Regions from separate parts of the Homo sapiens genome. Here region 1 is linked to region 2. Evidence: promoter capture Hi-C in human tissues and cell types (Jung and others, 2019). All regions are on one chromosome and are shown on one strand. The core of a region is centred on a gene start or on the middle of the fragment in contact, and the rest is flanking DNA. Distances in the headings are between cores, read along the strand shown.

Region 1 (4,767 bases), core at 60-2,559, 570 kb after region 2:
TCCGTCCCATATAGAACTCTAAAGACAGGTAGTAGATCCTCTGCCCAGAGAGACGGATGGGCAGGGAATGGGGTCAGGGCCACACACCAACACTCAGCCAGGCCCAGCCACGCCTGGACCTCTGGCCCGCCTGCCCTGCTCAGCAGTCCCATCCCTGTCCCCAATTTGTTTCTCCCTGTCTCAGGCTTTGGGGCCCAGCGGTTAAGGTTCTGGTCCCAGCATTCCTCTGACTTTGGACAAATCACTCTCTTTGGCCTCAGTCTCCTCATCTGGGAAATAGCGCTGGCCATACCCACTTCAGGGACTGAGGTACTCGGGAGAATGGGCACCCCTTCCCCCTGCACACACCCCCAGAGAAAAAAGTCATTTGCTCAAGGTCACACAGTGGCTAGAGACTGGGCTAGAGACTGTCACCTCCCATCCTTGCACTGTCCAGTTCCCCTTGGCCCTCAAGCCTCAATCCCAAGGAGACCCAGAGGCACCAGAAACTAGGATGCTGCCAGTGCCTGGTCTCCCAGTTTCCTGGGTCCCCTCCTGGGCCGTCTGCCCGCCCCTCCCCCACTCCCCACCGAGGCGTGTCAGGTTGCTGACATTTACCAGTGACCCCACCGGACACTTGATCTCTGCCGCCCCAGCTGCCCCAGCCCCGCCTGCTGCACAGGCACACCGCGCATACATGCAGCAACTGATGTGTCCTTCCACCTGGGCCCAGCCAGGCCACAGGCGCCGTCCTGCCCACCAGCACCCACTCCAACCTTCTCCGAGTGGGCACTGACCCTTTGCAGCCAGCCCACCTGCTCTGAGCTCCCTGACCCCCACTCCTGCCCCAGGTTTCTCCCTCAGATTGTCCCAGCACCCCTTGTGCCTGGCACCCCTGGATTCTCCACCCCCAAGAACCTAGAGTGACGAGGGGCAGCCACTTAAGTCAAGATCGCCAGCTCCCTGGCAGCGCCTTCAGCCCATACCCCCACCCCAGGCTCCCCAGCAGCACCTTGGGGTCCTTCTCATAGTAGTGCTGCTGCGTGCGGATCCAGCGCCCCACGAGGTGGTCGCGCACGGTATGGGCCAGAGCAAAGTAGTAGTCTCGTGGGGTGGCCACATTGCGGTCCTTTACGAGTGTGAAATGCAGGTGCCGGTTGAAGTTCTTTTTCAGCTCAGTCACGTTCTCCACGCCGGCCAGGCCACGCACACTGATTTGCTTTCTTTTCTCTTGGTCTGACAGGGGCCGGGACATGGCTGCAGGAGGGCGGGCCGGACTGGACTGATGGTAGAGGGGACGGCGGCCTCAGCACTGCCTCCAGCCAAGGAGTGGAGCTCCCCAGCCTCAAGGGGATTTAAAGCCTGGCTCTGGGCAGCACGCCCCGCCTCCCCTGCAATGGGAGGGTCTTGGCCTGGCAGCTCAGGGAGCTATTTTGAGGGCAAGGGGAGGAGAGGAGAGGGGAGGGAGAGGTGAGCTCCACTTGGGCCGCCAAGACTGGCCTGGCTTGTTCACAGGCCTGTGCTGACCCACTTCCTCCAGGCCTTGCACATGGTCTTCTGTCCCTTGTCCCTGCCTTTTGGAGGGTTGGATACAAGAAGGAGCAGGCAGAGTGCTGGATTGGGGAGCTGTCTGTCAGTGGCTGAACCAGGATGGGAGGCCATGTGTTGTGGCAAAAGGAACCAGGACCCCCTGCAGGCTGTGGTGCAGGAGCCAAGTCAGTGTCCCCTGACGGAAGAGGTGCAACTAGCAGAGGCCACTGGATGTCTTTGAGAAAGGGGCCCACGACCCTGCATTGCAGGGGTGGTGTGAGGGAGGTTGTGTGAGGCAGGGCCACAGCCCTCACTCCACCCCCACCGAAGCTGAGCAGCTCTAGGCTCCCCCTGTTGCTGTCCCTCAAGGAGCCCTGAAGTGACCTTTTGGAGAGGGATGCTCAGGTTACTGGCCAGCATTGGCGGGAGGCCGCTAGCCTGCAGCACGGGGCCCTGGGAACTGTAGTCCTATAGGCCCTCGGCGGTGGGAGAAACTGAGGCATTCCCCACTCCATCATCATACTGGTTTAATGACAGTAAGTTCTCCCTGTGATTCCACTGCTTAGGAAGTGATTAGAGGCCTTCTTTCACTTCTTCCTGCCACCTGGGGCCACACTCTGAGCAGGATTTTGTAAACCAGCTCTGTGACCTGGCCTATAAAATGGGTGCCTAATCTGTACCTCGAGGACCTCACCCCATTTGTGTGCATAGCCCCACAGCTTTGAGCCCTTCCCTGGAGGCTTTGGCTATCCTCCCATTCACTGCTGTGTTCTGGCCCCAGCACTGACTTGCTGTGTGACCTCAAGCTGGTTGCTTTACCTTTCTGAGCTTTGGATTCCTTCACCAAATTTAGACTCTCCAATGAGAAAAAAAAAAATCCCTGCCTCTCAGCTGCTGCCTCCTCATCTTGTGAGGGCAGGCTTCGGATCCTGCTGTTCTTTAAGAGAAAGGAACCAGGACCTTGTGCTAGTTCAAAGGCTGTTTGGGCCTCCCGGGTGGTGGGCCGGTGGAGGGGAAGAGCTGGGTGTTCTGTTCTGAAGGCCAAGGAAGCAGGTCAAAAGCCTGGACAGCTGCAGGATACTATTGAGAGCCTGGTTCGGAGAAAGCCAAGCTGTTTCTGAGAACTTTTTTTTTTTTTTTTTTGAGGTAGAGTTTCATTCTTGTCGCCCAGGCTAGAGTGCAATGGCATGATCTCAGCTCACTGCAACCTCCGCCTCCTGGGCTCAAGCAATTCTGCCTCAGCCTCCTGAGTAGCTGGGATTACAGGCACCCACCACCATGCCCAGCTAAGTTTTGTATTTTTAGTAGAGACGGGGTTTCACCATGTTGGACCAGGCTGGTCTGGAACTCCTGACCTGAGGTGATCCGCCCACCTTGGCCTCCCAAAATGCTGGGATTACAGGCATGAGCCACAGCGCCCGGCCTCCGATCACTTTCTGAGCCATGGCAGACCCAGCCCTGGAATCACCGGCTTAGTATGTGGGCCAAACTTCAAGTCCTACAGAGGTCTCCAGGCTCCCAAGCCCTGCTCTACCCCTGCCCCCAAAAGGCACGGGCACACTGTCTTCTGTGGTGCCTGCCACATTTCCAAGTAGAGAAAAAAGATCGGGAAAAAAACACCAAAATACACCTCCACAGACACGGGGATGCAAACAACTTTTCCTTACATTTTTCTGTTAATTTCCAATTTCTCTTAAGAAGTGTTTCATAAACCATTAAAAAACAATGCTGGCCGGGCGCGGTGGCTCACGCCTGTAATCCTAGCACTTTGAGGCCGAGGTGGGTGGATCACCTGAGGTCAGGAGTTCGAGACCAGCCTGATCAACATGGCGAAACCCCGTCTCTACTAAAAATACAAATATTAGCCAAGCATGGTGGCACATGCCTGTAATCCTAGCTACTCGGGAGGCTGAGGCAGGAGAATCACTTGAGCCCGGGAGGCAGAGGTTGCAGTGAGCCGAGATCACGCCACTGCACACCAGCCTGGGCGACACAGCGAGACTCTGTCTCAAAAACAAACAAAAAAACAATGCTGGCAGCTGTCTGGTCTCTTCCCCTTTCACAGTTTGCACCCCAGCCTCAGCTCCTGGGCCTCATCCCCATCCTCCACTAAGCACAGCTTGGACTCCAGCTTGGCCTGGCATCCAAGGTTCTTCACAGCCCGCACTTGTCCCTTGGAGGGTTGCTGTGAGTAGAGCTGAGACTTCTTGGCAGTCCACTGCCAGGCAGGCAGTAGCTTGTTAACCATGCCGTCACCTCACAGCCCAATCGTGGCAGCCTGCTTTGGCCACACACACCTTCTTTGCATTGACCCCTATTTCCTGCAAGACTTTATGTTCCTGCCACTGAGGACCCGATCCCCATAGACCATCCACATCTTACAGGCAGGGAAGGCCAAGTTCATTCCATCCTTTCCCAGCTACTCTCCCCTCTTGCACCCAGGGCGCTTGCTCTCAGGAACATTTTTACTGGGAAATTTTTAACTTTCTCCAACTACCTTTTCTGTGGCTTCTTTCCGTCTTTGTCATGCCATCACTCCCCACTGTTTCCAGGCTTTGTCCCGGGGTGACACTGCATGCCCCAGCCCAGCATGATCACACCTGGGCAGCACGATCTCATCTGTTTCCCTGCTTCCTCCGCCCCTCCTTGGTGTTGTGTATGCAGGTTTAATGAACCCTGAAGCACTTTTACAACCTGAACTCACTCGAGGTTATTTATGTCTAAGTTTCTAACTAGAAACCCGGCCTCCTTCCTTGGACCAATCCTGGGTTTCTCCAGAGCCCTTGGCTGAACCTCAGTAACAGAGCCCTGAGGCTGACCTTTCCCCACTGGCATTCCTCTTGCCAGGCCTTGCCAGGCCTTGAGGGACGGGGACAGTGCTGCTACAGCAGCAGAAATGAACGTGAGGAGAGGGGGTGGGGCAAGCACAGCCCTGTCACAATGTGATGGAGTAAATGGCTTGCTTTCCCACCCCAGGTGTCTTAAGACAGGTGGGCAGGCCTTTCTCTCTCTGATTCTGCCAGAGGCAAGTGCTTGCCACGGTTCAGAGGGCCAAGCCTTCCTGCTGTCTCTTCCATTTCAGGGCCTCTAGCACCTTGGAGACTGATGCCTTAGTCAGCCACTTCCTCTCCAAAACCTTAACAAAAGCTGACGGCAGGGAGCAGAAAGGGAGGGAGCACAGGAATGGAGCTGGCCTGGGGGAGAGAAGCGGAGGAGATAGCTAAGCTGTGGTTAAGTCATTTATTGATTTTATTTCTA
Region 2 (4,834 bases), core at 870-3,369:
TACCCTGAGGCAGCTCCCACCCCAGGCCCTTTGCACTGGCTGTTCCATAGGCCTGCAAGGTTCCCCCCTACATTTCCATGGATCTCACTCCCTTGCTTTCTTCAAGTCTTTTCTCACCGTGCCCCACAATTGAAAATGCAAAACCGCTGGGCACGGTGGCTCACGTCTGTAATCCCAGCACTTTGGGAGGCCGAGGCGGGGGGGGGGGGGGATCACTTGAGGTCAGTAGTCTTGAGACCAGCCTGGTCAACATGGTGAAACCCCGCCTCTACTAAAAATAAAAAAATTAGCCGGGCGCGGTGGCGCACACATGTAATCCCAGCTAACTGGTAGGCTGAGGCAGGATAATTGCTTGAACCCAGGAGGCAGAGGTTGCAGGGAGCCGAGATTGCCCCACTGCACTCTAGCCTGGGAGACAGAGCGAGAGTTTAAGACCAGCCTGGACAACATGGCGAAATCCATCTATACAAAAAAAAAAACAAAAAAAAAAAACCCAGAAAAATTAGCTAGGCGTAATGGTGCTTGCCTGTAACCCCAGGTACTTGGGAGGCTGAGGTGGGAGGATGGCTTGAGCTCAGGAGGTTGAGGCTGCAATGAGCTGTGATGGCGCCACTGCACTCCAGCCTGGGAGACAGTGAGATTCGACTCCGTCTCAAAAAAAAAAAAAAAAAAAAAAAAAAAAAAGCAGGCGGTTAGATTGCACAGGCCCTGAACCCCATCCTAAAGCCTCCAGCACTTTCAAGTGAGGGATTACCAGGTTTGCGGATCTGCTGCAACTTGGCTGCAGTGTCCAAAATGGGTGGGGCAGGTGGAATTAAAGATGAGGCTGTGGAGACAAGCTACTGGCAGAGAGGACACACTTTAAACCCTGGGAAGATATCATTACCCAGAGAGGGGGAAGGATGAGGACACTGCAGAGCCCAACATCATCGCCAGACCCGAGTCATGCGGCTCCTTTGTTCCAGGAACCAAGGCTGACCCTAGAAGCAATAGCAGCATTTTCACTCCGCAGGTGCATCTCTTCCACGCTTTGGGGTGCCTGCCCTGCCTCCGACTTCTGGGGCTGGGATTTAAGGCCCTACCAGGGCACAGCTCGCCAGCTCACAGGCGGTCAACTACTGATTCAGTTCTTCGTCTCCTTCACTCCTTTACATCGGACTCACGAGGGCTGAGGGGCAGCTCCCTTTCGTTAAGTGCTTCCCGCGTGCTCAACACCGCACGAATTCCCCTCGGCCCTACAGGACCAAACGACCGGCGCGCTGAGAAAGGGTGTGCGGTTCCACTGAGGACGCCCAAGCGGGACAGCCGGGCCCGCCGCGGTGAGATCCCCGGCCTGTCCAGCCCAAGCCCAAGCGCCCTCGCGGTCACGTGGCATTTCCGGAACATTCAGAACCTAACAGCCAGGAGGCAGGAGGGCCGGGCCGAGGCCGGAGCGCTGGACAACGCGGGTAGCTGGCGCTCGAGGGACAGGCAGCTCCCACCGGCTAGGACCCCCATCCCGATGCGCGGGCGAAGGGCTGGGGCCCTGTGCCGCTGGCGATCCCGGGGACCGCCTGGAACTCGCGGCACTCGGGAGCGAGAGGGAAAGCAACCCAGAGGCCCCGCAGCCGCCGGCGACACAGCTACAGACCCCGACTGCAGCCGGTACTCCCATATATCAGGGGCGGGGCGAAACCCGGCCTTTTGAAGGGCAGCGATTTAAACCAATCAGCGCAAAGAGTTGGCAACCCTCCGCCCAATTGGAATCGCTCTCATTCTGAAGGCGGTTCCGACATGGAGTCCGGCAGCCCAATGGGAGAGGTGGAAATTTCCAGAACGATCAGAACCAATGGGCGCGGCCAGCGCGGCTACGATTGGCAGTGCAAAAGACCAATCCGTGTCGCAGAAGTTCGCTCCTCCCTCCATTCGTGGAGCCTGAGATGGGTGGGTTTATAGAGGAGCGCCCAATCCTGAGGTGCGGGGGAGGCAGGGTTGAGGGAATTACTCCCCGCTGTCCAATGAGAAGGAAGTGGAGATGATGGGCTGGACCTCAAGCCAATAGTAGAGCAGCACAGACATTCCCCCTAGAAGAACTCGACCAGTGAGCAGGCGAGGAAGGGGCGGGAGCCGGGGTCCCGGTAGCTTCTAGTAGGTTCCAGAAGGCGGCGCGTGCGGTTGGGAACGCGGAGCGGACGGATTCGATTCAACGGGGTTCCGGACCGCGCTGCGCTATGGAGCAGGTGAAGGGGGAGGGGCGGGCTGAGGCCCCGAGCCTGCTCGGGGACCGGCGGTGGCCAGGCCGCGGTAGGGGGGCGGGGCGGGCGCCGGATCCAGGAGACCGGAGCTCGGCGCTGGGGCCGGACGGGGCGGCGGCGGGGAGGTGAGGGCCGCGGGCGGCGGGCGGGAGCGGGATCTTTAGCGAGGCCGGCCGCGGGGAGCGCCCATCGCCCCCTGGTTGGGCGAGGAGGGCCCGGCGGAGGCCACAGCTTGGGTGAGTCCGGCCGGCGGCGGGAAGAGGGGTCGCGACCGGGCCCTGAAGGCGTCCCGAGGGGGCGGCTGCGGGCCATGTTGGGGAGGGTGCGGGCCGCAGGGGGCGGGGTGGAGGTGGGCCGGGGGCCGGGGTCCGCACCCGCGAGGTAGCCCTCCGGGAGATCTCAGACGGCCGACGGAGAAACCGCTCGGGACTTAGCCACGAGGAACTTGGACGGATCCAGGGAGCGGGGACGGGGATACACTGGGAGTAGCCGAGGATCTTAGCAGCCTGGGATGCAGTTGGGGCAAATGTTACTCTTCTACATCTGAGAAGGTCAGGGTGGGAGAGCGTTGAGCGGGGGTCTGAGGAGCGACAGACCGACTCTACCTGATGCGGGAAAGGGAAGGGTGCCGCAAAAGTCCTTGGGACGAATTCCATCTCTGACAGTGTTTTACAAATGTATTGCGGCCCCTCCCCCTCTTTTTGTATGCTTGTGTGTGTGATTGTCGAGTGACCGAGGACCAACACTTCCGAAAGGTGGGTCTGAAAGATGGGTTTCTGACGACCCGGGGGTGGTTGTAGACAATTTACAGAGATCAACCGCTGGAAGTTATGGGCCTCTACTGAGCATTTGAGGGGCCGAGTTTGAAGCGGTTGCTGCTTCCTTTCAGTGACTTGGTTATGTCCTCAGTAGCTTGCGGTTATGAAAGGCCTAGAGGTTTTGTTCGATTTGAAGCTGTCATTGAGCTGTAATGATTCATCGGAAGAAAAAGGACAAAACAACCTCCAAGAAACCTCTACCAACCTCCGAGAAATCATCCTCCCGCTCGGGAGTACTACTGTCTTCGCTCCGGGCCCATAACACTTGGGGGTGACAATTCTGAAACTATACCTGGTATCTGGTTCTTACTTCAGGGCCATAAAACTAAGATCGCCCACACTCTCCCCTTAAATAAGACATCTCGATGGACTAGTGACTACCATCCTTTTTTTGGTGTGAGCTACAGAGCTGAGCCTTTGGTCTCTTGTAGCAGTTGCTGCTTTAGGCAAAGCTCGAGCTTCCTTGCTGTATTAAAAAGAGTGGAAATGAAGTTAGTAAACTTTTTTGTGCCCATATAATATTTCAGTTGTATCTAGGGTTAAATGGGCTGTAGTATAGGTGAGGAAAAGATTTCTGGAATAAGACGTTGCTCTTTTACCTTTAAGAAAGGATCTGGGGCCGGGCACCGTGGCTCAGCCTGTAATCCCAGCACTTTGGGAGGCCGAGGCAGGCGGATCACGAGGTCAGGAGATCGAGACCATCCTGGCTAGCACAGTGAAACCCCGTCTCTACTAAAAATACAGAAGAAAAATTAGCCGGGCGTGGTGGCGGGAGCCTGTAGTCCCAGCTACTCGGGAGGCTGAGGCAGGAGAATGACGTGAACCCTGGGGGCAGCTTGCAGTGAGCCGAGATTGCGCCACTGCACTCCAGCCTGGGCCATAGAGCGAGACTCCGTCTCCCTCCAGCCTGGGCCACAGAGCGAGACTCCGTCTCAAAAAAAAAAAAAAAAAAAAGGATCTCGGCTGGGCGCAGTGGCTCACGCTTATAATCCTAGCACTTTGGGAGGCCAAGGTGGGCGAATCACCTGAGGTCAGGAGTTCTACACCAGCCTGGCCAACATGGTGAAACCCCCTCTCTACTAAAAGTACAAAAATTAGCGGGTCATGGCGCAGGCCTGTAATCCCAGCTATTGGAGAGGCTGAGATAGGAGAATTGCTTCAACCCGGGAGGCGTAGGTTGCAGTGAGCTGTGATCACGCCACTGCACTCTAGCCTGGGTGACAGAGTGAGACTCCATCTCAAAAAAAAAAAAAAAAGAAAAGAAACGATTTCTGTTACCAAATTTATTTTGTATTTTTTTTAGAGACAGGGTCTGGTTCTGTGGCCCAGGCTGAAGTGCCCTGGTGGGATCATAGCTCACTGCAGCCTCAAGTTCCTGGCCTCAAGCGATCCTCCTGCCTCACTCTCCTGAGTAGCTGGGCACACCACCACAACTGGCTAATTTTAACATTTTTTGTAGAGACGGGGCTCTTGCTGTTTCCCAGGCTGGTCTCGAATTTCTAGGCTCAAGCAATCCTCTAGCCTTGGCCTCCCACTTCATTAGCACTAGGATTACAGGCGTGAGTCACCTTGCCTGGTCTTAAAATGTTTGTTTTTAAATTACCACTACTGGTGATAGAAGTGTATGTACAGGTAGGTAGATGGTGAATGAATATTTGACTTAGGACAGCAAACTGGCATGGCAGCTGTACAGATGACCTGGCATTTAATCCCAGGTGTGTTTGAGCCCACCATCTGGAAGCCATTCCTGAAAACAAACACGATTTCTCTACCTTTTGTTTT

Evidence for each region. The method cuts DNA at HindIII sites, captures the fragments that hold promoters and counts their contacts. A contact is called where the count stands out against the background at its distance.
Region 1: the fragment with the promoter of PYGM here is called in contact with the fragment with the promoter of STIP1 in region 2 in 1 of the 25 tissues and cell types used here (mesendoderm cells).

The regions. Positions count from the first base shown.
Region 1 is chr11:64,758,665-64,763,431 of GRCh38, forward strand. It overlaps PYGM (glycogen phosphorylase, muscle associated), which reads right to left and starts at 1,310. Exons shown (of 20, transcript NM_005609.4): 1 at 992-1,310; 2 at 1-40. The coding sequence starts at 1,234. RefSeq lists enhancers at 1-15, 16-719, 720-1,424, 1,425-2,127, 3,464-3,513 and 3 more. The HindIII fragment of the contact is 11,504 bases long and covers 1-4,767 here.
Region 2 is chr11:64,184,052-64,188,885 of GRCh38, forward strand. STIP1 (stress induced phosphoprotein 1) reads left to right here and starts at 2,120. Exons shown (of 14, transcript NM_006819.3): 1 at 2,120-2,219. The coding sequence starts at 2,211. It overlaps LOC124902686 (a long non-coding RNA gene), which reads right to left and starts at 1,630. Exons shown (of 2, transcript XR_007062712.1): 1 at 1-1,630. RefSeq lists enhancers at 114-619, 1,243-1,312 and silencers at 1,433-1,572, 2,273-2,332. The HindIII fragment of the contact is 11,787 bases long and covers 1-4,834 here.